Linked DNA regions of Homo sapiens: all the other regions are linked to region 3. The links are contacts of gene promoters, found by promoter capture Hi-C in blood cells and fetal thymus (Javierre and others, 2016). All regions are on one chromosome and are shown on one strand. The core of a region is centred on a gene start or on the middle of the fragment in contact, and the rest is flanking DNA. Distances in the headings are between cores, read along the strand shown. Region 1 has its middle 14 kb from the start of RERE. Region 2 overlaps ERRFI1 (ERBB receptor feedback inhibitor 1). Region 3 holds the start of RERE-AS1 (RERE antisense RNA 1). Region 4 overlaps PARK7 (Parkinsonism associated deglycase). Region 5 overlaps LOC124903834 (a long non-coding RNA gene). Region 6 overlaps RERE (arginine-glutamic acid dipeptide repeats). Region 7 overlaps ENO1 (enolase 1).

What was found. The method cuts DNA at HindIII sites, captures the fragments that hold promoters and counts their contacts. A CHiCAGO score of 5 or more calls a contact.
Region 1: a fragment that was not itself captured here is called in contact with the fragment with the promoter of RERE-AS1 in region 3 in 1 of 17 cell types (total B cells); the score reaches 5.4 in total B cells.
Region 2: a fragment that was not itself captured here is called in contact with the fragment with the promoter of RERE-AS1 in region 3 in 8 of 17 cell types (total CD8 T cells, activated CD4 T cells, non-activated CD4 T cells and 5 more); the score reaches 6.4 in total CD8 T cells.
Region 4: a fragment that was not itself captured here is called in contact with the fragment with the promoter of RERE-AS1 in region 3 in 1 of 17 cell types (naive CD4 T cells); the score reaches 5.5 in naive CD4 T cells.
Region 5: a fragment that was not itself captured here is called in contact with the fragment with the promoter of RERE-AS1 in region 3 in 6 of 17 cell types (total CD4 T cells, M0 macrophages, M1 macrophages and 3 more); the score reaches 8.0 in total CD4 T cells.
Region 6: a contact is called between a fragment that was not itself captured here and the fragment with the promoter of RERE-AS1 in region 3, in 3 of 17 cell types (megakaryocytes, erythroblasts and naive B cells). The highest score is 8.2, in megakaryocytes.
Region 7: a fragment that was not itself captured here is called in contact with the fragment with the promoter of RERE-AS1 in region 3 in 2 of 17 cell types (naive B cells and erythroblasts); the score reaches 6.0 in naive B cells.

The regions. Positions count from the first base shown.
Region 1 is chr1:8,829,600-8,833,273 of GRCh38, forward strand. It overlaps the pseudogene RPL23AP19. Among named protein-coding and RNA genes, the nearest start is that of RERE, 14 kb to the left of the region's middle. The HindIII fragment of the contact is 1,679 bases long and covers 964-2,642 here.
Region 2 is chr1:8,018,579-8,021,987 of GRCh38, forward strand. The region is part of intron 1 of ERRFI1 (ERBB receptor feedback inhibitor 1); the gene reads right to left. Among named protein-coding and RNA genes, the nearest start is that of ERRFI1, 6.0 kb to the right of the region's middle. The HindIII fragment of the contact is 1,222 bases long and covers 1,238-2,459 here.
Region 3 is chr1:8,422,887-8,426,495 of GRCh38, forward strand. It overlaps RERE-AS1 (RERE antisense RNA 1), which reads left to right and starts at 1,759. Exons shown (of 4, transcript NR_125999.1): 1 at 1,759-1,815. The region is part of intron 11 of RERE (arginine-glutamic acid dipeptide repeats); the gene reads right to left. RefSeq lists silencers at 559-898, 1,209-1,348. The HindIII fragment of the contact is 3,073 bases long and covers 1,396-3,609 here.
Region 4 is chr1:7,974,250-7,977,545 of GRCh38, forward strand. The region is part of intron 5 of PARK7 (Parkinsonism associated deglycase); the gene reads left to right. Among named protein-coding and RNA genes, the nearest start is that of PARK7, 14 kb to the left of the region's middle. The HindIII fragment of the contact is 323 bases long and covers 1,783-2,105 here.
Region 5 is chr1:8,001,768-8,005,165 of GRCh38, forward strand. It overlaps LOC124903834 (a long non-coding RNA gene), which reads left to right. Exons shown (of 2, transcript XR_007065451.1): 2 at 2,221-3,398. Among named protein-coding and RNA genes, the nearest start is that of ERRFI1, 23 kb to the right of the region's middle. RefSeq lists a silencer at 3,002-3,296. The HindIII fragment of the contact is 5,450 bases long and covers 1-3,398 here.
Region 6 is chr1:8,788,890-8,792,254 of GRCh38, forward strand. The region is part of intron 1 of RERE (arginine-glutamic acid dipeptide repeats); the gene reads right to left. Among named protein-coding and RNA genes, the nearest start is that of RERE, 27 kb to the right of the region's middle. The HindIII fragment of the contact is 2,548 bases long and covers 489-3,036 here.
Region 7 is chr1:8,860,347-8,863,781 of GRCh38, forward strand. ENO1 (enolase 1) reads right to left here. Exons shown (of 12, transcript NM_001428.5): 10 at 2,889-2,997; 11 at 2,541-2,599; 12 at 654-1,083. The coding sequence ends at 1,014. Among named protein-coding and RNA genes, the nearest start is that of MIR6728, 4.5 kb to the right of the region's middle. RefSeq lists an enhancer at 2,184-2,478. The HindIII fragment of the contact is 2,516 bases long and covers 121-2,636 here.

The DNA of each region.
Region 1 (3,674 bases), core at 553-3,052, 410 kb after region 3:
AACCTCCCCCTCTCACTTCCTCACACTCCCTGGGCAAAACCACAACCCTGGTGATAATTCCAATTTGCTGCCTGGTAGGCATCTGCACCTGTCCAGCCAAATGAGGCTGGCATCACACTAACGAGTTTCACTTTCAAATTCACAACCACAAACCTCACGTGGAGTCTTCACGCCCCTTGGCAATCATACAACACTTATCCAGGTTAATTTCTCCCTTCATTTTCCAAGCAGTTATTTTATAACCTCTCCTTTCTGCTCAAACCTCCAACACCTCCTCCCTTCCCCTCACTTCCAGTTAATGGCTTTCTTTCGGTTCACTGTGAATGTTGACACAATCAGCAGAGAAGCTGTGTGATCTCCCCCCTCCCCACACCTATCTATCATTCTCTAAATCCCCACGCTCTGGGCTCCTGCCTACTATTATAGACAAAGCATCTCTGCTATTAGAGCCCAGCCCTCTGCCTGTGCACTTGATCCAGTCCCCTCTGATTACTCATGGATATCACTCAGAAATTATCCCCTCTCTCTGCTACATCAGGGTTTTATTTTTTATTTTTTATTTTTTTTGCTCTCTGCTGGATCATTCCCATTAGAATATACATAAGATAGGCCAGGCACAGTGGCTCACACCTGTAATCCCAACAGTTTGGGAGGCTGAGGTGGGCGGATCACCTGAGGTCAGGAGTTCGAGACCAGCCTGACCAACATGGTGAAATCCCATCTCTACTAAAAATACAAAAATTAGCCGGTCATGGTGGCACATGCCTGCAATCCCAGCTGCTTGGGAGGCTGAGGCAAGAGAATCGCTTGAACCCGGGAGGCGGAGGTTGCAATGAGTCAAGATCGTGCCATTGCACTTCAGCCTGGGCAACAACAGTGAAACTCCATCTCGAAAAAAAAAACAAACAAAAAGAATATACATAAGTTTTTTTTATTCCCCTATAATAAGGCTTCTCTTAACTAAGCTTTAGACATTATCTACTGCCCCATTTCTTTGCTCCCTTTTCCAGCAAAACACCTTTGAAAGAATGATCTACATTTGCTGTATCCAATTCCTTGTTTCCTATTCTCTGTAAAATCCACCCCAATCTCACTCTAACTCAACCTCTCCTCCAAAACTTTTCCTATCAAAAGGAAGAGCCAGTGGCTCACACCTATAATCCCAGCATTTTGGGAGGCCGAGGCAGGAGGATCACTTGAGGTCAGGAGTTGACCAGCCTGGTCAACATGGCAAAAACCCCGTCTCTACTAAAAACACAAAAATTAGCTGGGCATGGTGGCGCATGCCTGTAATCCCAGCTACTCAGGAGGCTGAGGTACGAGAATCGAATCGACTGAACCCGGGAGGTAGAGGTGGCAGTGAGCCAAGATTGCGCCATTGCACCCAGCCTGGGCAACGGAGACTCTGTCTCAAAAAAAAAAAAAAAAAAAAGGAGAGCCAGCTGGACTCCAAAAGAGAGCCCATCTTTCTACCGAGCCCAGCCCAGGTGACCCCATTTTGCCTCTCTCCCAGGCTTGACCACTATGCCATCATCAAGTTCCCACTGACCACCGAGTCTGCTATGAAGATGGAAGACAACAACACACTTGTGTTGATTGTGGATGTTAAAGCCAACAACACCAAGTCAAACAGGCTGTGAAGAACCTCTATGACGTGGATGTGGCCAAGGCCAACACCCTGATTCGGCCTGATGGAGAGAAGAAGGCATAAAGGCATATGTTCGACTGGCTCCTGATTATGATGCTTTGAATGTTGCCGACAAAATTGGGATCATCTAAACTGAGTCCAGCTGGCTAATTCTTATCTGATACAATTGATCACTGTTCCTGCCTCCTCTTTGCCAGAGGGGCTCTTGCAATTTTGTTGAGTTTTACCTCCAGAAGCCCAACTGGGTTCTCACAATGATCTGAAAAAAATCCCCTCATGCTTCCAGCAGGGGGAGAGGAAAAGCAGCCGTTTTGGAATACACCCAGAACACTCTGATTTTTTCAGGGGATTTTTTTTTTCTTTTGAGACAGAGTTTTGCTCTCCTTGCCCAGGCTGGAGTGCAATTGAGTGATCTTGGCTCACCGCAAACTTCGCATCCTGGGTTCAAGTGATTCCCCTGCCTCAGCCTCCCAAGTAGCTGGGATTACAGGCATGAACTTCCACGCCTGGCTAATTTTGTATTTTTAGTAGAGATGGGGTTCCTCTATGTTGGTCAGGCTGGTCTTGAACTCCTGACCTCAAGTGATCCGCCCGCCTTGGCCTCCCAAAGTGCTGGGATTACAGGCATGAGCCACCGTGCTCGGCCCAGAACACTGTTCTTAATAAGGCCTGCCCTGAAAGGAAACTACAGTCATACACTGCATAAGACGTTTTGGTCAACAACAGACCACATATATGATGATTGTCCCAGAAGATACCATATTTTTACTGTACCCTTTTAATGTTTAGATTTGTTTAGATAGGGCCAGGTGCAGTGGCTCACGTCTGTAATCCCCCAGCAGCACTTTGGGAGGCAGAGGCAGGAGGATCCCTTGAGCCGGGAAGTGGAGGCTGCAGTGAGCTGAGATCCAGTCACTGCACTCCAGCCGGGAAGACAGAGCAAGTCTCTGTCTCAGAAAAAAGAAAGAAAGAAAGAAAGAAAACAAAAGAAGAAAGCTTTATCAGACAAACAAAAATTGAGAAAATTCACATCCGTAATCCCAGCATTTTGGGAAGCTGAGGCAGGGAGGGCCCCTTGAGCCCAGGAGTTCAAGACCACCCTGGACAACATAGTGAGACCCCAGCCTCTACAAAAAATTACAAAACTTAGCCAATCATGGTGGCACATGCCTACTCTGGAGGTCAAGGTGAGAGGATCACCCAAGCCAGGGAGATTAGGGCTGCAGTAAGCCATGATTGTGCCACTGCACTCCACCCTGGGTGACAGACCAAGACTCTTGCCTAAAAACAAACAAACAAAAAAATTAAGGACATTTTTGCCGGCAGACCTGCTTTTCAAAAAATGTTTAAAGTATTTTTTTGTTTTTGTTTGTTTTTGTTTTTGTTTTTTGAAGTGGAGTCTCACTCTGTCGCCCAGGCTGGAGTGCAATGGCGCGATCTCGACTCACTGCAACCTCCACCTCCCAGTTCAAGTGATTCTCTTGCCTCAGCCTCCCAAGTAACTGGGACTATAGACGTGCACCACCACACCCGGCTTATTTTTGTATTTTTAGTAGAAACAGGGTTTCACCATGTTGGCCAGGCCGATCTCGAACTCCTGACCTCTGGTGATCTGCCCGCCTAGGCCTCCCAAAGTACTGGGATTACAGGTGTGAGCCACTGCACCTGGCCTAAAGTTTTTTGTTTTTGTTTTTGTTTTCCTGGGCACAGTGGCTTAATGCCTGTAATCCTAGCACTTTGGAAGGTCGAGGCAGGCAGACTGCTTGAGCCCAGCAGTCTAAGACCAGCCTGGGCAACATGGCAAAAACTCATCTCTACAAAAAACAAAAAAATACAAAAAATTGGCGACATGTGGTGGTGCACACCTGTAATCCCAGCTACCCAGGAGGCTGAGGTGGGAGGATCACCTGAGCTAGGGAGGTCAAGGCTGCAGTGAGATGAGATTGTGCCATTGTACATCAGCCCGGGTGACGGAGTGAGATGCTGTCTCAAAATAAAATAAAATAAAATAAAATAACGCTGGGCG
Region 2 (3,409 bases), core at 599-3,098, 400 kb before region 3:
AAGAATAGGAAAGCGAATGTGAATCCAGACAGCATGGTTTAGACGGGGACCCAAATAACCTTCAGCATAACTTCTCCAAACTTCATCAACTATTTTTAGCTTTTTTAGTGGGTCTAAAATGCAGTTAAATACCAAATTTCAGATGTGAACCACCTTTTCCTGTTAACTTGATTCTTTTCTAAATTCAACGAAAAAAGAAGCCCTAAAATCATTTGCTTCTTGAGGTTATCCTTTTATTAATCCACTTGTATAGCTTCAACTCATAGACAGCTCCTGAATCAATGACTCCAGCCTGGCTCAAGCTTCAACTTTGCATTTCCTATTGTCTGGTGATTATCTTTCCACTTGGATGGCCCTCTGGCATCTCAAACTCTACAAACCAAACTCCTCCTTTCACTTCATACTCCATTCCCCACTCCCCAAACCAGTTCAGGGTCTAAGAGGATCACACTTCTCAAGGCACCATTTTTAACCTGAGGCCATGTACATTCAATTGCCAAGTTCCACAGACTACTTTTACATGGTTTCTCAAATCTTACCCTTCCATTGACAGGCATCATTCTTCCTGGGGTCTGGCAATATGCAACCTATTCTACAACACTAGTACCAAGTCAATATTCCTTAACAACAGCTCAAGCTAAGATTTGCTGCTGCTCAAAAAACCTTCAAAGGCTCCTAAATAAAACCTCCTCAGCCTGGCAATTTAGGGCCTCCACAATATAAACCTAATCTATATTTTCAAGCGCGCTTCTATTTTCCCCAAATCTCTGTTACAATTCGATTCATCCTTTAAGGTCAGCTCTACCCTGCCTTCTCCATGAAGCCGCTCCCTTTCATGAAACACTGGAGCAGCGGTGCTCTGTTCTTGTGTTATTTTGTGCTGGGCCCCAATTCCCCTTCCACTCTTCAAATCATCTAGGACAGAACTGATGTCTGATTTATGCTTTCCCCCTGTAGATCTTGGCATCATTCATGTCTATTATTTATTAAATGGATACTGAGAAAATATCCATCTCATTTTTAAAAAGTAATGACATGAAAGATTCACATACACTGTGAGTCAGTGAAGAGCTCAGGGGAGAAGCAGATTTATAAAGGATAAAGTTAATGCGTGCTGGAGTGAGGCGACTGCCCAATAATAATGTAACAACCTTAGGATATGTAACAGGAAGGAATTTTTATGAAATTCATTTCCAGAATTCAAAGAAGACAGTTTGTAGACTGAGTAAAAATTATAAGCTTCAGTGGTTAACAGTGTAGCTTTCTAAACTGGTTTCTGTTACAGTATATTTACTTGAAGCAATTGGGGGGGTACTTTCTTAAAACAGTGTTTTGCCTTCTCTTAAAACACTATTCCTTCTAGACTGTGTTTTTGCTGCTGAATTTAAGGTGACTTTCATTTTTCTAAAAAAGTTACACCAAAAGCACACTGCACCTTCTTCATTAAGGTGAAATCATATGCCTTTAGCTTGAGGACAGTCTCTTTGAAACTGCTTAAAAAAAAAAAAAAAAGAAAAATGCAGGCTACCTTAAGGCAGTAACCTAGATATGCTTACCTGGCCACCAGATCTCATTAATAAATCTCAGAAGCCATCCATGGGAGGAGGAGGGGCACATTTTTGTCATACAACTCATCCAGTTCTGCCCAGTGCTTCCTTATTTAAGAGTGTGATGTAATTTCCTCCTTTCAATCTGGTTCTAGAACCTGATTTCTGTTTATTCAGGGTGATAAATGGTCTTTTCAGTTCCATTTAAGAATCACCTACATTAAGTACTTCCATAACCAAGGAAGATAATAAGGTAACTACATTTAAAGGCAAAATTTATAAAAGGAAACTGATTTAGGAATATGACAAACTCCATGATTTTAGATCCTCCCCAAATATACCAATCTCTGCATGTTTATTTTTTAAAATGTCTAAAATAATCACCTGTGAGGAAATTAAAACAAACAAACAAACAAAAAAACACCAATTTTTTTTTTTTTTTTTTGAGACGGAGTCTTACTCTTGTCACCCAGGCTGGAGTGCAATGGTGCACAGCACAATCTCCACCTCCCAGGTTCAAGCGATTGTCCTGCCTCAGCCTCCCGAGTAGCTGGGATTACAGGCATGCACCAACTCGCCAGGCTAATTTTTGTATTTTTAGTAGAGATGGGGTTTCTCCACATTGGTCAGGCTGGTCTCAAACTCCTGACCTCAGGTGATCCTCCTGCCTCGGCCTCCCAAAGTGCTGAGATTACAGGCGTGAGATACCACGCCCGGCCCAGATTTCATTTTAATAGCCTATGATTTAGGTAGGGGTAGGAAAAGAAAGAGGGAGGCAAGTTAAGAAAACTTCCTTAGTTGTACTCTCTACCATGGTAAGCATAAGTAGCCTTTAAATTAAAAACATAGATTACTTTTAAAATAATGCCATGTTTTAATGTAATTAAAATACTCCTGCATGAATTCAAGAAAAGCTTGATGGCTTCAGTAAACATTAAAATATAGTTCAGTGTGGCAAAGATGAACATTTGTGTCTGTGTTTGCAGCTCCATTCCTCAGAGGCTCTTAAACATGTCCAGAACATAATGGACCATTTGTAGGTGGTGAAATAGAGGCAACAGAGAAAATAATTTATCTTCAAACTGTCAAATAAAAAATAAATGACGTAATTTATTCAATAATTCAGAATGCTTTCTAGCTAAGTATTTTAAAAAATGGTAAACTAACAAAAAACCCATTCCCTCAACTACCATAATCCAGTCTTTCAACTCACTTAAGCCTCCCACACAATTTTAGTGTGACAGCAGAAAAGTAGGATAGCAGGAATACATTCTTTTGTCCTTTGTATTTCTCCTACAGAGTAGCACAATCAGTAACTATATATACACACAGAGGGGAGAAAAATATTATTTCTTTTTGACATATAACAATAGATTATTTCTTACTATAAAAGTGAATTCTAATCTAAAGACAACGAGCACAATGGTCTAATGATGGGACGCAAGTCTTTAAAACTTCAAATTTATTTAACAAGCATTTAAGTTACCCGATGGGTAACTCTAGATTGTTACAATTAATATAAAACCATTAATGATAACTAACATTCACTGGACATACAACTGCCAGGCAAGCATGGTTCTAAGTGCTTTATGTGTATGAACTCATTTAATCCTCTCTACAATGCCATAAGGTGGGCTACTATTATTACTCTCACTTACTTGAGGCACAGAGTTAAAGAACTTGCTCAAGGTCAAAACTGGTGAGCAATGGGGCCAGGACTTCAACTAGACAGCCCGGCCTCAGTGTCCAGGCCCTTCACCAACACACCACACTGCCTCTTCCTGTCCCTACGGCTTTTTAAACTGGCGAAGTAGGATCCGACTGACTATACTGCTCAACTTGTAAGGGTAGCACAGATCCTT
Region 3 (3,609 bases), core at 509-3,008:
GCAGAATAACAACCACAAAAAAAGTCTCGGCTAGGGAATACTGCCGAGGCTCGGAGAGTATGTCAGCAGCTCAGCTGGGACCCACTGGCCAGGGCAGGCCCCAGCTACCTTCATCAGAACCCCAATCCCACCCACCACGCAGGGCAGCGCGTTTAAGAGAAGGACGTCCTGCGTCTGAGGCTAAGAAGCAATCTGTCCCCCTCTTCCACCAGGCACACATTCTGGTGCACGAAGGTATAAATATGCTCCATGTTTTAATAAAACACAACTGCTTTCCCACCTGAGAACCAAGCTTCCCAGAAGTGTCGAGCAGAAAGGGGAAACAGAACCAAACCCGGTGACTCTTCTCCAGAAGGGAACCCTAGGGGGTTAAAAGGCCGCTTTCCTTAATCCAAAGAATTTGCCAGGAGGCACCGGAAGGCACCAGTATCACAGAAGCCCACCGGGAACACGAAAGCCAGCGGGCCTGCCCCACCGTCCGTCATTAAAAGCCACTCCGAGACACCAGAGAATAACCAGCACCCCTTCCGCCCTCCCGACGCCACTCGCCGCCCCCATCCATTTTCGCAGCAGACTCGTCCCTAACCCCAGCCCGGAGACTTTCACTTTGTCCCATGCCTCCCGAGCACCCCTCCCCGCCCCGGTGGGGGCAGCTCCTGGCTCCGAGCCCCCACCTCGGGGCTCCCAGCCTGGTCCCGGGCGGCCGACCCCAGCAGCCACAGGTAAGCGCCCGGGGTCCGGGGCGGCAAGAGGCCGTCGCCTGTCACTGGGCTCCGGCTCCACAAAGCGCAGGGCGGAGGCGGCCGCGGGTGGCTCGGCGTGTGACCGCGGCGGGGCCGCGCGGCGCGGGGCCCGGGGGGCGCGGGGCTGGGGCCGCCGCTGACGGGGGAGGAGGCAGGAGCGCGGCGCGCAGAGCCCGGCGCGGCCGCGGGCGGCTGCAAAAGGCGGCCTGGATTGCCGCCGCCCTCCTGTCCGCCAGCCGGGGCCCCGCGCCCCGGCCCCGGCCCCGCCCCCGGCCCGACCCCCACCCCGAGGCCGGAGCCTCCAGGGCACCCGGCGCTGGAATCTGTGTCCTCCTTCCGGACAGGAGAACATCAAGGCGGTAAAGCACAGAAACTTCCTCCCTACCGCAGCAAGCGTGGGGAGAGGGCGCCCACAGGGCTGGGGCCCTTCCCAGGCTGCTGGGTCTCCAGCCCACGTTCCGGATGGACGAAGTCGGCTGCGCCCCGGCCGCACGCCCTCCGCCCCAACCCCGCCTCAGCTGCGAAACGGGGGGCTGGCCCCGACGCCCCCCGCGGTCCCTTCCGGCCCGCGATTGTGGGCGGCCTCTCCCTGGCGGCCCAGGCATTAGCCTGCACTTCCCCGGCCGCCGCTTCACAACTAAATCACCGCGGAAGCTTCCCAGCCAATAAATCACCTGCCCACCGGGCAGAGGGTCCCTCCCACTCCCTGTGTTTGAGACCCGCCAGGCGGATTCAGTGAAGGGCCAGACTTAGCCTTTTAAGACCAGTCTGCAACCTCCTACTCCAGTAGTGGAGGCTTTGCGTTTTTGAATTTCACCCTTGCTGAGATATGACTCATCATTGTCAATTTTCAATATAATTCATACAGTTCGAAGGGAAAATCTCTCAAGGCACAAGAAAGCAGCAAGCTCTCCTCTAGTGTGAGGAGTGACCTTTGTTACTTGACAAAAGTATCGTTTATATGATCAACAGGCATCCTACGCTGTGTGCACACAGCATATCACCGGGAGAGACGGCACGGAAAGATGGCCCTGCCCTCAAGGAGCTGCAGTCTGCCCAGGAAGGCAGACAGGTAAACAAACCAGTCCTAGGGCCTGCAAGAAAAGCAGCAGAGGAACAAAGGGTGGTGGGTGAAGCTAGGAAGAGGAAGCAACTTACTCTGCTTGCTGATGTCTTAGAGGAAGTGACAAGGAAGAGTGTGAGCCTGCCAGGTGGGCTCCAGCAGGGCTTCCAGCAGAAGTCAGCCAGGAAAAGGCACAGGGAACATTCTGGGAACTGCAAGGAGGACAGGGTGTGCAGAATGGAGTGCCAGCAGATAAGACGAAAGAGGCAGGCAAGGATCCGGTTGCAGAGAGCCCTTCAGGCCGCACGGAAGAGTTCCTAATTGTAGGCTGGCAGAAAGGCTGAAGCTGGAGCTTTCCATGAAAAGACTGGATGAGGACTGTGCCAGTGGCAGTGTGGCCTAAGTGTAGATTAGGGACAGACCAGTTAAAGAGGCTGCTGACACAGTTCAGGTATGAGATGAGGACCTCAACTACTGGCACACTCCACCTCAGTAATCAGAATTCCTGCCGCTTAATCCATTCTTCAAGTATTCAGGTATTTACTGAGCACCTAGCTGAGAGGGGTCTAGGAAGATAATAAAGGTTGCCATGGACCTTTACTGAACTGTGATTCATTTTTGCACGTAAGATAAGTATGTGTGAAGTCATTACAGAACATTCTGAGATGTCATCTGGCCAAGCATAAAGAAGTGAGGTGCAGCTCATCAGTGCAGCAAGGGACCCAAGAAGGCTAGACTGCAGTGGTCTGTAGTAGTTCAGAATGCCTTCGCCAAGGCAGTGACATCAGCGAGATCACAAGGGGTGGGCAACTATTGCAGGGGTGGGAGGTGGCTTGGTGACCGGGCCCTCCGTGAAGGTCAGAGGTGGAGAATGGGAGGTGGGTTACAGGGGACAGTCTACACAGACTTGGGGCGGGCAATCTGGAGTGAGCCAGGCTGTGGAACGCCAGGACCATGCAATCGGAACGTGGGCTTGATACCAAGTGACATCTAACAGGTCCAGTAAAAGAGGCCTACACAATAAAGGCAGCATGTGAGAAAGGCTGACTCTGGAACATCAGGGTAAGGTGGCAGAGTTGGACAAACAAATTCAGATCCTGTTTCTTCCATTTATTGTGATGCAATCCTTTGAACATCATCCATTCAACCAATAGTTACTAAGTACCTACTATATGCCAGGAGCCTCATATATATTAATTCGAAATCTTTACAACCTAAGAAGAAGTACAATTATTATCCCCATTTTACAGACAAGGAAGCTGAGGCACAGATAGGTAACTAGATCAACTCCTCAGAGACAAAGCCAGAATTCAAACTTAAGCCCCCTCAAATCCTCAGAGCCACACTCTGTAAAATGCAGGCAGGCGTCTACAGTGGTAACTATTTTCTGTTACCATTTTCTATGAGTCTGTACTTTCCTCTTCTCGGGTCCAATGTCAAATCATAAAGTCCTCAGTATTCTTCCTAAGAAGTGTCTTTCAGCCGGGCGCGGTGGCTCATGCCTGTAATCCTAGCACTTTGGGAGGCTGAGGCGGGCAGACCACAAGGCCAGGAGATCGAGACCATCCTGGCTAACACAGTGAAACCCCGTCTCTACTAAAAATACAAAAAATTAGCTGGGCATGGTGGTGGGCGCCTGTAGTCCCAGCTACTGGGGAGGCTGAGGCAGGAGAATGGCGTCAACCCGGGAGGCGCAGCTTGCAGTGAGCCGAAATTGCGCCACTGCACTCCAGCCTGGGCGACAGAGACTCTGTCTCAAAAAAAAAAAAAAAAAAAGTGTCTTTCAACGCCCTCCTTTCCTGC
Region 4 (3,296 bases), core at 694-3,193, 450 kb before region 3:
GAATTTGAGGTTACATTGAGATGTGGTGATCACACCACTGCACTTGAGCCTAAAGGACAGAGCAAGACTTGGTCTCTTAAAAAAAAAAAGTAAAAATAGGCCAAGGGCGGTGGCTCACACCTGTAATCCCAGCACTTTGGGAGGCCGAGGCGTGCGGATCACAAGGTCAGGAGATCGAGACCATCCTGGCTAACACGGTGAAACCCTGTCTCTCCTAAAAATACAAAAAATTAGCCAGGCGTGGTGGCGGGTGCCTGTAGTCCCAGCTACTCGGGAGGCTGAGGCAGGAGAATGGTGTGAACCTGGGGGGCAGAGCTTGCAGTGAGCCGAGATTGCGCCACTGCTCTCCAGCCTGGGCGACAGAGTGAGACTCCATCTCAAAAAAAAAAAAATTATATAAAAAACAGTAAAAATAGAAAACACACTAGCAGTGTGTTTATACCATTGAATATCCTGCACCACTGTTGTGGGCACTACACCAGAAATAGGAAAAAATGTGATGATGAGCTGAGCTAATTGAGATGAGGGTTATGGGAATGGAACAGAGGAGTGATGGAAGAGATTTGGATCTTTTAAATTGGCAAACAGAAAAATAAGATTCTTTTTTTTTTTTTTTTTTGTTGAAATGGGAGCTTTGCTCTTGTTGCCCAAGCTGGAGTGCAGTGGTGCAATTTCGGCTCACTGCAACCTCCACCTCCCAGGTTCAAGCGATTCTCCTGCCTCAGGCTCCCGAGTAGCTAGAATTACAGGCACCTGCCACCATGCCCAGCTAATTTTTGTATTTTTGGTAGAGACGGGGTTTCACCATGTTAGCCAGGCTGGTCTCGAACTCCTGATCTCGTGATCCGCCCACCTTGGCCTCCCAAAGTGCTAGGATTACAGGCGTGAGCCACCGCACCCAGCCAAGATTATTCTGAAGTGTTGCAGTTAGGGATTGGAAACATTTTGAACACAAAGAATATTAGCCTAGTCCTTAATATTGAGTGAATGAGGAACGCAAATTGGAAGGGAGTCTATGTTGAGAAGAAAATTAAATGATATTTACTTTGAGTAGGGGAGGGGGAGGAAGTGTGGAGTTGGAGGAGTGGACAGTTGTCAGCTGAGATGCCCAGGTCTAGGAATGAGGCCTCTGGAAGCAAGGTCTTGGCCACCTGGAGGAGCTGGGGAGTTGGCAGAGGTGGTCATTTTGCATGTTACCACAGGGTGGTGCTGTTGGCTGCAGAAGGGGACATGGTCAGCTGCGCCCTCTGCACTGTAGTGCAGAGTACAGAGCGTTTTCATCCATCAGAATCCCAGGTCCTGGGAGAGTGAAACGTCTCTTCTCCAGTATTCCAAATAGGGTTCTGACGCCCCAGAAAGCAGTGATTATGAGCTTACCTGATAAGTATGAAAGACATCAGTAAATTCCTGAATCCAACTGTAACATAAATTTATTCACATCGTAGCAGTGATTTTATTACCACCTTGAAGGGAGCAGCCTAAAAATTCTCGTTCACCGATCACTTTCCTCACTGTGCTATCATCTATTAAAGTTTACTTTAAAATGCAAGATGATGTAGGAATTTCTTCTTAAATTCTTACCAAATAAAAATTAAAAACAATTTATAAATCCATTCAAATAAAAATTGATAATTATTCAATTCTTACGGACTTCTAAAATTTGCTACCATACATAGCTGTCTTGTGTGTAAAAATAACGTGGAGAAGAGACATTTGAGGCTTTTGATTTAAGAGCTATAAATCAGGACTTGGTCTGAAACTGACAGCTGATATTAGGCAGAAAGCTTATGTAATTAGGTAGTATTTGTGTGATCTTCCTGTTTGTAACAGCTACGGTCTGAGTAGCTTGTGGGTATATTATATAATTCCTTCCTTGGAGTCTTGTTGAAAAATGAAAGGACAGTAAGACCAAGACCTCTCAGGTTTGCTGACACTAAAAGTGTACAAACTGTGCCACAGGATCTTAGCCATCCAGGGCACCTTAAGTGTTTCCAAGATCAAGGTGCTGTTCTGAAACGTATCCTTCTAAGTGTCATGTGAGGCCTTAGAAAGAATGTTTATATGTGTGGCTTAGAGGAAAAAGGTAGAATGAATACTTTGTAAAAAGCTTTAAGATGAAATAACAATGAAAGGTATATAAAATCTTTGTTTTTAATCCTTATTTAGGACCATTACATACGCAATATGCTTGTGACCCTCCCTGAAGTTGGCCGTTTTCAGTGAATACATTTAAATAAAAATCTCAAGTTAGGACCTGCCAATTTGGAAAGACTTCATCAACTGACACTTCCATGTGGTTCTTTGCTTAAGTAGCTTTCATCACGTGATGCTAGTGCCTTTATATCTCACACTTCCAGGCACTTCACAGGCTATCTCCTTCAAGGACAGTGTGCTGTCCATTTTAATCCTACCACCTGGCATACTTGGGTGGATAGGTGGATGAACGAGTGTTAATTTCCCATTTTATTTATTTATTTTTTATTTATTTTGAGACAGAGTCTCGCTCTGTCGCCCAGGCTGGAGTGCAGTGGCACGATCTTGGCTCACTGAAAGCTCTGCCTCCCGGGTTCACCCCATTCTCCTGCCTCAGCCTCCCGAGTAGCTGGGACTACAGGCGCCCGCCACCACGCACAGCTAATTTTTTGTATTTTTAGTAGAGACAGGGTTCCAGCGTGTTAGCCAGGATGGTCTTGATCTCCTGACCTCATGATCCAGCCGCCTTGGCCTCCCAAAGTGCTGGGAATACAGGCATGAGCCACCGTGCCCGGCCTAATTTCCCATTTTCAAGTAGAAAATAAGATTACAAAAGAGCAATAAAATCCAGAAGTTCAGAGAGTACCAGTTGCCTTTAGCATGTAACTAAATCTTTCCTTTTACTAAGAGTGAGGTAAGAAGTTGAGCCCGCCCCAGTGATCCTCCCCCTCCTTTGGACTCCTGGTATATGTGGTCCCTGTTCTGGGGATGGGGAAGGTGAGAGAGGTGAGCACATTTTGTTTATCTGTGTATGCTCTGCTGGTATCAAGGTAAATCTTCTTGAGTAAATGGTTATTGAAGTATTTTGAGTTTCTGTGCTTTTGCCAGATGTGCTCAGCAAATCGTTTGTTATAAACATACTTTATCTCTCATACTAGGAAGTGTTTCATTTCAGAATCGTAGCTGTATGTTTGGTAAGAGCCTCTTGATTTTGAAGAATACTTTGCTGTTGCAGTTTTTGTTGTTGTTAGAGAAGGGGTCTGTGTTGCCCAGGCTGATGTTGAATTCCTGGGCTCAAGCAATTTTTCTACCTAGGCCTCCCC
Region 5 (3,398 bases), core at 727-3,226, 420 kb before region 3:
TTAGTAGAGACGGAGTTTCACTATGTTGGCCAGGATGGTCTTCATCTCTTGACCTCATAATCTGCCCGGCTCGGGCTCCCAAAGTGCTCGGATTACAGGCATGAGCTACTGCAGTGGGCCCTGTTCTTATTTTTTATTTATTTTTAGATGGAGTCTCTGTTGCCTGGGCTGGAGTACAGTGGCGCAATCTCGGCTCACCACAACCTCCACCCTCCGGGTTCAAGCGATTCTCCTGCCTCAGCCTCCTGAGTAGCTGGGACTACAGGTGCACGCCACCATGCCTGGCTAATTTTTGTATTTTTAGTAGAGACGGGGTTTCACTATGTTGGCCAGGCTGGTCTCGAACTCCTGCCCTTGTGATCTGCCCGCCTTGGCTTCCCAAAATGCAGGGATTACAGGTAGGGGCCACCGTGCCCAGCCTAACAGCCTGTTCTTATTTCACGAATATAATGTTCTGTCTAATCTCCAAGGATTGTTTTAACATGTTTGCTTTGTGAAATGTTTGCATGGGGAGTTGCATGTTTATTGAGTTTTGTACTTTTCTTGATATTAATTTTCCTCAAATGCTTCGCAATTTAAATTTTGGGCTCATATTTCAAAATTCCTATTCTCCTGTCTGTTGAACCAGGTTCTGATGACATGAGTTTGCCTCTGATAACCACAGCAGAGGAAACACAGGGCAGTGTGAGGAAGGCTGAGTCCTCTCAGTCAGGAGGGCCTTTCTAGCCCACCTAGAAATAGTGCAGATTTCTTGCTACCCAGGGTCTTGCTGTGCCTCTTGTCACCAGTGCTCTGGCCTGTGTGCACATACTCACTGTGACACAGTTTAGCATGAGAGAGGTGGGGAAGGGGGCGAAGGCAGCTGGCTGATCCTCCAAAAGCCCCCAGATAATCACCCTGACTCCTGCCCCAGGGCTCCTTCCTGTTCCCTATTTCCATAAAGGGCAGAGCTTTCTCAGAACTCACAGCCACCTTCACAGAAGTCATCTCCTATAGATTTTTTTGTTTGTTTGTTTTTTGAGACGGAGTCTCACTCTGTCCCCCAGGCTGGAGTGCAGTGGCAAGATTTCGGCTCACTGAAACCTCCGCCTCCTGGGTTCAGCAATTTTCCTGCCTCAGCCTCCCGAGTAGCTGGAACTACAGGTGTGAGCCACCATGTCTGGCTAATTTTTGTATTTTTAATAGAGATGGGGTTTCACCATGTTGGCTAGGCTGGTCTCAAACTCCTGGCCTCAAGTGATCCACTCGCCTCGGCCTTCAAAGTGCTGGGATTACAGGCGTGAGCCACTGCACCCGGCCCCTCCTGTAGATCTTTTAGCCTTTGGTCTTTTCTTTGGTCTTATTTCTCCATCACACAAGACCCATCTGTTTTCTATCTTTCATGAATTCCTGAAACAGTCTGGTATGCCAATAAACACTTTTGTTTTTCAGTAATGGGTTTATTCTGAATTTCAGGAGATTTTCAGATGTGTAGCAGGAGGGCTATGGGACTCTTTGTGGCCCTCCATATCCATGTTACATTACACTCCTGGCTATGACCTGTCACATAGTTGTTCTGTGCCACTTTGATTAACAGCACAGTGTACCTTGTCTTGGTTGGTCTTCATGCTTACAGGAAAAAGACCTGCCAACATCAGGATTTGTAACCAGAAAAGGCATTGAAAACATATCCTCAAAATCAGGCTATCAAATTTTAGAAGGAAACCTTTCAGACCTAGAATCAGTTATGGAGAAGTGAGATGATAAACAGTTCCAGAAACTGTAAATGGACTGCTTCTAAGCCACAACTTGTCTTCGTACACACTGATGTATACATAATATGGCAAAGTTTTATGTGCAACTGAGGGTGTGGCATTTATGATTCAGAAAGAATGAGTTCGTGTAGATGGAAATGGGCATTTGGGTGGGGATTAGGCAAGGACAGAATTATAATGCACGCCGGGTGGATGGTAACACCTCTTTTTGTCTATACCAAAACTGTTCAGAGAAAACTGTATCCATAAAACTGACTTTTTGCGATTACTAAATACATAGAATCATTTAAGTATCCAATTTGAGAAAAAAAATTACATGAGTAGAAGTCATCCACAGATGAGTAGTCCAGGTTTTAGAGGAAAAAAACTTTAAGTGAACATTTCAGTTGGGTAAATTCAGTTTCTCACTGAGAATCTTCTCAATCTCATCTTGCCAGATGACAAATGACTGTCTATTATTGTTAAGGTTTGTGGACTCTTACAAAAGGAACAGTCGAATTGATTCAGCATCAGCTAAGCATGGAAGAAAAAAAAATATGTAACTGTGAAAACAAAAACAAAACAGATTTCTGGCTGCTGTCCTCAGAAGCCTCCCGCACAGACGATGTTCCTGACAGGATCAACAAACGTCGCATTTCACTGTCCCACAGTGCAGCTTCGTCCATCAGCCACTGACTGGCATGGGCCAGGAGCAGTGTTGGTCTCGGTGACAGTGACTTCCTTGCCCTGCTCTGAATGAGTGTCCTTTCTGTGAAAGTAGGTCTCATGGTTCTAGGGCTGATCCCAGCGCCATCCCACAACATTTCAGTGTGCCCGACAGCGTGCCTGGCAAGCAGCGAGCTCCTGACAATTGGAAGCTGCTAATGCTGTTACAGACATCTGCAAGCAAGTCAGATCAGCCAGCTTCCATCACGTGAGACACCTTGGAGGACAAAGCCACATTGTGTGGAGGAAAACACACCACCATTCAGGCCCATCGTCATCCTGCTTTCTCCTATACTCAGTCTCCCACAGTGCCAGGTAGTTTTCTGCCTGTACTAAGAAGGGTGAATGGAAAGGTGAGATGTAAAAACAAACAAACAAACAAGGGCTCGAAATGTCTATGGGAAGATAAAATTGTAGCAGTGCTTTAGAAAACAAGAAGCGCATGATTAAATGGACTGTTGTTTTCTTTAGAATGCGGGTATTATCATTGGTATTGAGGTGACGCATTAGGACTTTGAGGTGCCTCCCCCACCCTGGCCTCTGCGCTGGCAGTGAGAACCCAGCCCGTGCTATCTTCACAGTTCTCAGCCCATGGAAGCACAGGCCACCTGGGCTCCTGCAAACACCAGACGTGTAATTAGAGGCTCCTGGGCTGGGATGATGTGGTGTGCAGACAAGTCTTATCACGCGTCTGAGCCGCTGTGGGTGCCTGGAGTTGCCTCTGCAGCCCGGAGCGGATGAGCGGAGGCTCCCGTGACTCACCCAACTGCAGGAACTGTCAACTGGCTTCTGCCCAGCCAAGAACTTTTATCAATCACTAAGTAGAGACACTGTGTACAAGGACACCGGTTCATCCAAGAACATCAGGACAGCCAGGAATTCAAAACACAAAACACAGCTTCCTGCATGTTGCACCCCAGGCGGCTCTGAGGCTCAGCC
Region 6 (3,365 bases), core at 513-3,012, 370 kb after region 3:
GGGGAGTACAGGGGCCAGGCAGAGCACCCTGGGCACAGCCCTGAGGCTTTCCAAATGAAATGATCCCAAAACTCAGACCTGAAGAATAAACAGGAGCTAAGAAGCAAAGGAGGGGGAGATAAACAGGTATGAATCAGTGGGTGCTCAGGGTGAGAGGCAAGAGAAGACATGAAACAGAATATGTGAACTATTATTTTTTAAAAAACTAAAGTAACTTCTATATTTGATGGTAGAATTTTTGGTAAAATTTATCTTGTATAAAATATGATACTAGGCTGGGCACAGTGGCTCACACCTGTAATCCCAGCATTTGGGGAAGCCGATGGGGGAGGGTTGCTTGATCCCAGGAGTTCGAAACCAGCCTGGGCAACACAGCAAGACCTCCTCTCTACCAAAAAAAAAAAAAAAAAAAATATATATATATATATATATATATGAGAGATACTAAATGAAAGCCAAATACTTTACCAACCACTCTGGCTTCTCAAAGCTTATCTGTCCTGTGGCTACTACCTCTCTTTCCTTCAGCCTAACCTACTATCTGACCAAACACGAGCAGTGGCAGGAAGCAATTTTAACACGTCACACAGATGCACACATAACTCTTTATCAGGACTGACCAATACACTTCCCATCCCCACATTACAAATTTGGGGCCAAAATTACTCAGACAGAGATGTACTCTCCAGTCTCTGGCTGACGTGCTACCTTATTACCTCGCCCCAATTCCCTTCAGGTGCCAACAGACACTCCGTGCCTAGCATTCCAAGCCTGTCTTCTTTGGTCTACCTAACTTATCTGGCACTATTCCTCCCCACAAATTCTGTACTTCAACCAGGTTCTCTTTACTGAACGCTGCGCATACCATATGCATTCCTGCCTCAGGCCGACCCCTGCCTGGACTGTCCTAACCTGCTCTCCCAGTCTGCTATTCAAACAGCACCCATTCTTCGATGGCCCACTCAGCTTTTCAATGGATCTTTGGTCAACTTATTTAATCCACACCAATCTCTAACCTGAAACTGAACTAAATTTGTTATGCTAAACAGTAAGTACTTGGTTAAATTCCGCTTTTGTTCTAGAAATCTCTAAATGTTGTATTCTTGCAAGGCTTCCCTCCTAAATTCTGAGGCCAAAGATAGTAACTTTTATTTCTTTTGTATCCCACTAACAGCAACATTAAACTTGGAAAACACACCTCCCACACCTGTTGGCTAGCTGACAGATCCTGGATGGAAAGATGAGCCAGAGAGCATTCAGTGCCAGTTGCTTTTCTCTGGAACTGCGGGTTCAAGCACCAAGATTAGGACTAGACTTATGTGCTCCTTTGGGACAGGAAATGGCATATGTACTGAAACGCGAGATAGTTAAAGGACACCCCCCCAAAAAAAATTAAACATGAGGAAAAACATGTGTTCCTAATGTGGGCAAACCCCACCATATTACAAGTCTCCCCAGTACCTTCTATACTATGTAGCTAATAATACAAATAAATAATAAATCTAATCTATTTGATAAATGAATAGATTTAATACCACTAAGAGAAATATGAAGGTAATAGGTATAACCAACAGCCTAGAGTTTAATAAAGCTCCAAGGTAATCCCTGTATCAATTTATAAGATGCTAATGAATTATTTTTACAGTTTTTCAAATCCTTCATATAGAAATAAACTAAGCCATTTTCTAGGAAGAAAAAAGGTCAGGCTTTACTTACAGAGTCTTGCTCTTGTTATCCAGGCTGCAGTGTAGTAGCACGATCTCAGATCACTGCAATCTCCACCTCCCAGGTTCAAGCAATTCTCGTACCTCGGCCTCCCGAGTAGCTGGGATTATAGGCATGCGCCACCATGCCCAAATAATTTTTTTGTATTTTTAGTAGAGATGGGTTTTGGCCATGTTGGCCAGGCTGGTCTCAAATTACTGACCTCAAGTGATCCACCCACCTCAGCCTCCCAAAATGCTGGGATTACAGGCATGAGCCACCGCACCCGGCCCAGGCTTTACTTCTTTAGGGAGACAGGGTGGTAGGGGTTTCATAATGAACTGAAAAACCAAACACTGTGTCCCTTTCATTTGGCAAGAACTCCTTTTCCAAAGAAGGGACTCAGAAAAAATGAAATTACTTATATAACGTCTGAGAAATATTCTTAAAAGACAACAAAACATACAGAAAGGTATTTTGGATTCAGGAGAATACAACCTCTTCCAAAAAGAGATTTACTCTCTACTCCCTAGGAACTACTAATGACATGGAAAATCCCACTCAAGTTACATGAGGTCACACACCCACAATAAAGGTAGCTGCCTGAAGGTGGTCTGCCAAGATAAACACCAACTTGTTAACTCCCTAAGTGCTATGCAAATGCCCAAGATAGTATATGCACACTTAATGACTCTCTACATTGTTGGAGCATCATGTTTCTACTATTACTACAGTTCTTTCAGTCTGTATTTTAGTGGGGTTTTTTTCATATCTGTTCCCCACTTTTCATCATGACCTCCAGGAGGGTAGGGACACATCTTACTCATCTTTATATCCCCAATGCCTAGCATTATATCTTGCAAGAGACACTAAAAAAATAAAATTCTGCCAAATGAATGGGCAAGCCCAAAATATCACTCAGATAATCCCTTATTAACAGCCAAATGCCCAGGGGAAGGGAGACTTAGATGACAGCACCTTCCTAGAAAATATGGCCTGAAATTACAGATCATTTCTACAACAAGTTACATTTCACTTACTAAGCAACTGGTCTATCTTTTCAGAATAAATTTTACTTTTCATGATCAGTGTAAGTATACGGGAAGCATGATTATTCTGAAATCTCTTCTTTTCAAACTAAACACATAGCTCCTGGACACCCACAGGAATCATACGAGAAGAGGGAGAGGCAGTAGACATTAGTTTCAAACCTATAACTCTTTAAGAGTCAAACAAAAGTAGAAAATACTAAGAAAAGAAAACTTGTCAGAAACCATTTAAAGACAAAGGACACCATCATCTCCCAGAATTTATCATCAACAGAACAGGTGAAGCTTAACAAAGATAAATTAGGCCGGGCATGATAGTTCACACCTGTAATCCTAATACTTTGGAAGGCCAAGGTGGGAGGATCGCTTGAGCCCAGGAGGTCAAGGCTGCAGTGAACTATAATTGCACCACTCCAGCCTGGGCAACAAAGCAAGACCCTGTCTCAAAAGAAGGAAAAAAAAAAAGAAAACAAAACAAAAAGACAAAGTATAAGAGCGCCTTCTTCACTTAATGAAGCCCAAGTTATAAATTCTTATAACCCATTAAGTTTATAATTGAAAGAGTATCAAGCATATAGCTTTATCTATGCACATAAAAACAAACATAAGTTC
Region 7 (3,435 bases), core at 129-2,628, 440 kb after region 3:
ACCCCGTGTTCAGCATTACCCTAGAACAGTACTTGCTGCAACATTCAAGTTTTCCATCTGCTTAATCCAATGCAGTGGGCAGCAGCTACAAATGGCAGCTACCGGACACATGAAACCTGAAGCTTGAGAAACCGAGGAGTGGAATTCATTCATTTAAATCGGGTCCTGAGGTCTTCTTGATGCCCTTCTGCCTTCCTGCCCAGAGCTCCCATTTAATCCTTCTTTCACCTGCTTTCCCCAGGAAGAGACCCTGGGAAGAGAACATCTCTTCCCAGGATGGTCACCTTTACCCTGAAGTCCTTCTGGTCTGAATATGGCTGTGTAACCTAGTAGCTACCATCCTTAAGATTATCTACAAATAGGCCTGCATTTGAAGTTTCTTCCAAACAAGGTGTCCAAACAAAGTCTCGCTCTGCCTTCCAGCTTAGACTCTGTTTTGACCCCACTATCCTGGAGGGACCGTGTATGTCTCTTCTCTTGCCTTTGCCTCTGGTTCCCTTCCCAAGGACCCAGGAAAATGACCCCAATGGATCCTCATCCTTTTCTGTTACGACACCAAACCTTGGTTCTCAAAGGCCGACACCCTTTCGCCAGGGGCCCCTGAACACTAAGGACAGACCCAGATTGTTCCAGACATACACAGGCACACGGAGTATTCTCATGGGTCACTGAGGCTTTTTATTTTGAGCACAAAACCACCGGGGATCTAGCCTGTGGCCACCCCGGAGATGACACGAGGCTCACATGACTCTAGACACTTGGTGGAAAGTGAGGCGAGAAAAACAATGACTTGGGCCAATTACACGACTGCAAAGCTAGAGCTGCCAACAGGGCTCCAGGGAGCTTGGCTTCTGTAGAAGTTCTAAGGAAGCGGTACGAACTCCACGGCGGTGGGGCGCTAACTAGCAGGGACCCCTGCAAGTGTTGGTCGGGGGCCTCGAGCTGCCTGAGCTGACACGAGGGGAGGGGTCTGTGTAGCCAACAGGTGACCGAAGGGCTTGCCTGCCCACAGCTTACTTGGCCAAGGGGTTTCTGAAGTTCCTGCCGGCAAACTTAGCCTTGCTGCCCAGCTCCTCTTCAATTCTTGGGAAGGAGAAAGGTAAAGAGATGGGGAGGAAAAAAGAAAAGTCAGACCTCAAGTTTTAAGTTTTCCCATCCTAGATGTGGTCAAAGACACAGCCCCACTCCTGGGAAGTTGAGAACACAGAACTCTCCAGTTTGTCCACCTTCTTTAAACCCTCTAAACTTGTGCTTCTCTGAGAAGCCAGATATAGAAAAGTATTTAGTTCTCCTCATCCCAACTCACCATGCTAGGTGCCCTCCACCCACCGCCCCTTCTCTTCCTCTCCTCTCCCCGTCAGTGTTGCAGAGGAGCAAAGTAAAATGTCAGCATTGCCATTTCTTGGAATATAAAAATTCTAATGCTTTTGTTTTTTAAAAAATATTGAAGGGACAACAAATAAATGGCATGGGGAGAAAAGGAGAGTGACCTTATTAAAAGACAAAATGTGTGAGCTGTTTGGATCTTGATGTTAAAAAAAAAAAAAAAAAAAAAGGCCAACACATTTTGGGGCCAGGCACAGTGGGAGGATCACCCGAGGTCAGCTTGACCAATATGGTGAAACCCCGTCTCTATTAAAAATACAAAACAATTAGCCAGGCATGGTGGTGGGCACCTGTAATCCCAGCTACTCGGGAGGCTCAGACAGGAGAATTGCTTGAATCTGGGAGGCAGAGGTTGCAGTGAGCCAAGACTGAGCCACTGCACTCCAGCCTGGGCGACAGAGTGAGATCCCTCTCAAAAAAATAAAAATAAAATTCCCCAGCAAAAAAAGAATGGGAGTTTGAGGCTGCAGTGAGCTATGACTGCCCCACTGCACTCCAGCCTGAGTGACATGGCAAGACCCTGTCTCAAACAAACAAAACAACAAAAAAGCCCTGCGTCTACTGTTCACCTGCTTTTTTGTATATGTTTGAAAATTTCCAGGATACAGTTTGAATGAAGGGGTAATATGGGAGAACTTAGCGGGGTGGCGGGCGGGGGGACAAGTCTCCTGGTGTTCAGGGGCTTCCCAAGGACACAGACAGGAAAGGGAGACCAGAACAGCCCCACAGCGCTCACAAGTGGAAACCCAGCCATGTGCCCTTCGGCCTTTTCTTCCTCCCTCCCAGCCCTGGCTCCACATCCACAAACAGGGGTTAAATGCGCTGAAACAGATCATATGAAGGAGCTCTCTGAAAGCTCTAAGAAAGTCATGCATCAGCTGTCAAAGGGGGTCCCATTCTTTCTCACCAGAAGAGGGCAGCACTGTGTGGAACAGGCTCCTGCCTCTGGTGGCGCTGCAGTGGGTGGGTAGGGGGAGTCTAGGCCTAACTCTGTCCTGACCTAAGCCTGCTCAGGGCCTGGCTGTCTGCACTGTGCACCTGCACCTGTACATGTTCCCAGAGCCAGGAGCTCCTGGGGGAGGGCAGTGCCTACACTGAGTGCAGGCCCCCACCTAGTGAACCACAGGCCCCTTGTTCTCAGGAGCCCTCCTTACCTGAGGAGCTGGTTGTACTTGGCCAAGCGCTCAGATCGGCAAGGGGCACCAGTCTTGATCTAGGAGAAAAGAAAGGCCATTTGCTTACAGCGGACAAGCTTTGCAGGCATTTCTGGCAGGGAGAGGGTGTGGTGTCAGAGAGAGAATTTCTAGAGGATCTGATGCTAGGAAAGTGGGGGCCACAACATACAGGCAGGGCGCTCATGCCCCCATTCTGTTCAGCCTCAGAAACAAGAGCACTGACTCAGGGGACATGAGCAAAACGGGGACAGACATGGAGCCTCACTGGTTTTGGGTCTTCCTAGGAAGTTGAGGTCAGAGAAGAAAGGAGGAGACGCTCATTCTTACCTGCCCAGTGCACAGCCCCACAACCAGGTCAGCGATGAAGGTATCTTCAGTCTCCCCCGAACGATGAGACACCATGACGCCCCAACCATTGGCCTGGGCCAGCTTGCACCTGGAAGCCAAGGAACAACCCAGATGGCATGATCCCATTTTCTGGTTCCATAACCCCCAATGCCATTACCCCTCGGTGCCAGCAGGAAAGCAGTGGAGGGGCTGTTAATGGCTAAAGCCCTCCATGCCTGGGCTTTGTCAAGAGCACAGAGGAGAACCCTCACCCTCCCCTGAACTCTTCCACCCCCAGGACCTTCTTAGCCCTCCTGTCATAGTTGAAACACTGGGTTCAGCCTCCCTTGATGGGAGAAAGATTAGTGTTCTCTGACAGAGCTCTTCACAGAATACAACTACTTGCTATGTTGCCCAGGCTGGTCTTGAGCTCCCGAGCTCAAGTGATCCTCCTGCCTTGGCCTCCCAAAATGTTGGGATTACAGGCCCCAATTGTTTAATTTAAAAGGCTCCTGAGTTCAAACACAAAACCTGTTAAAATTCCAGC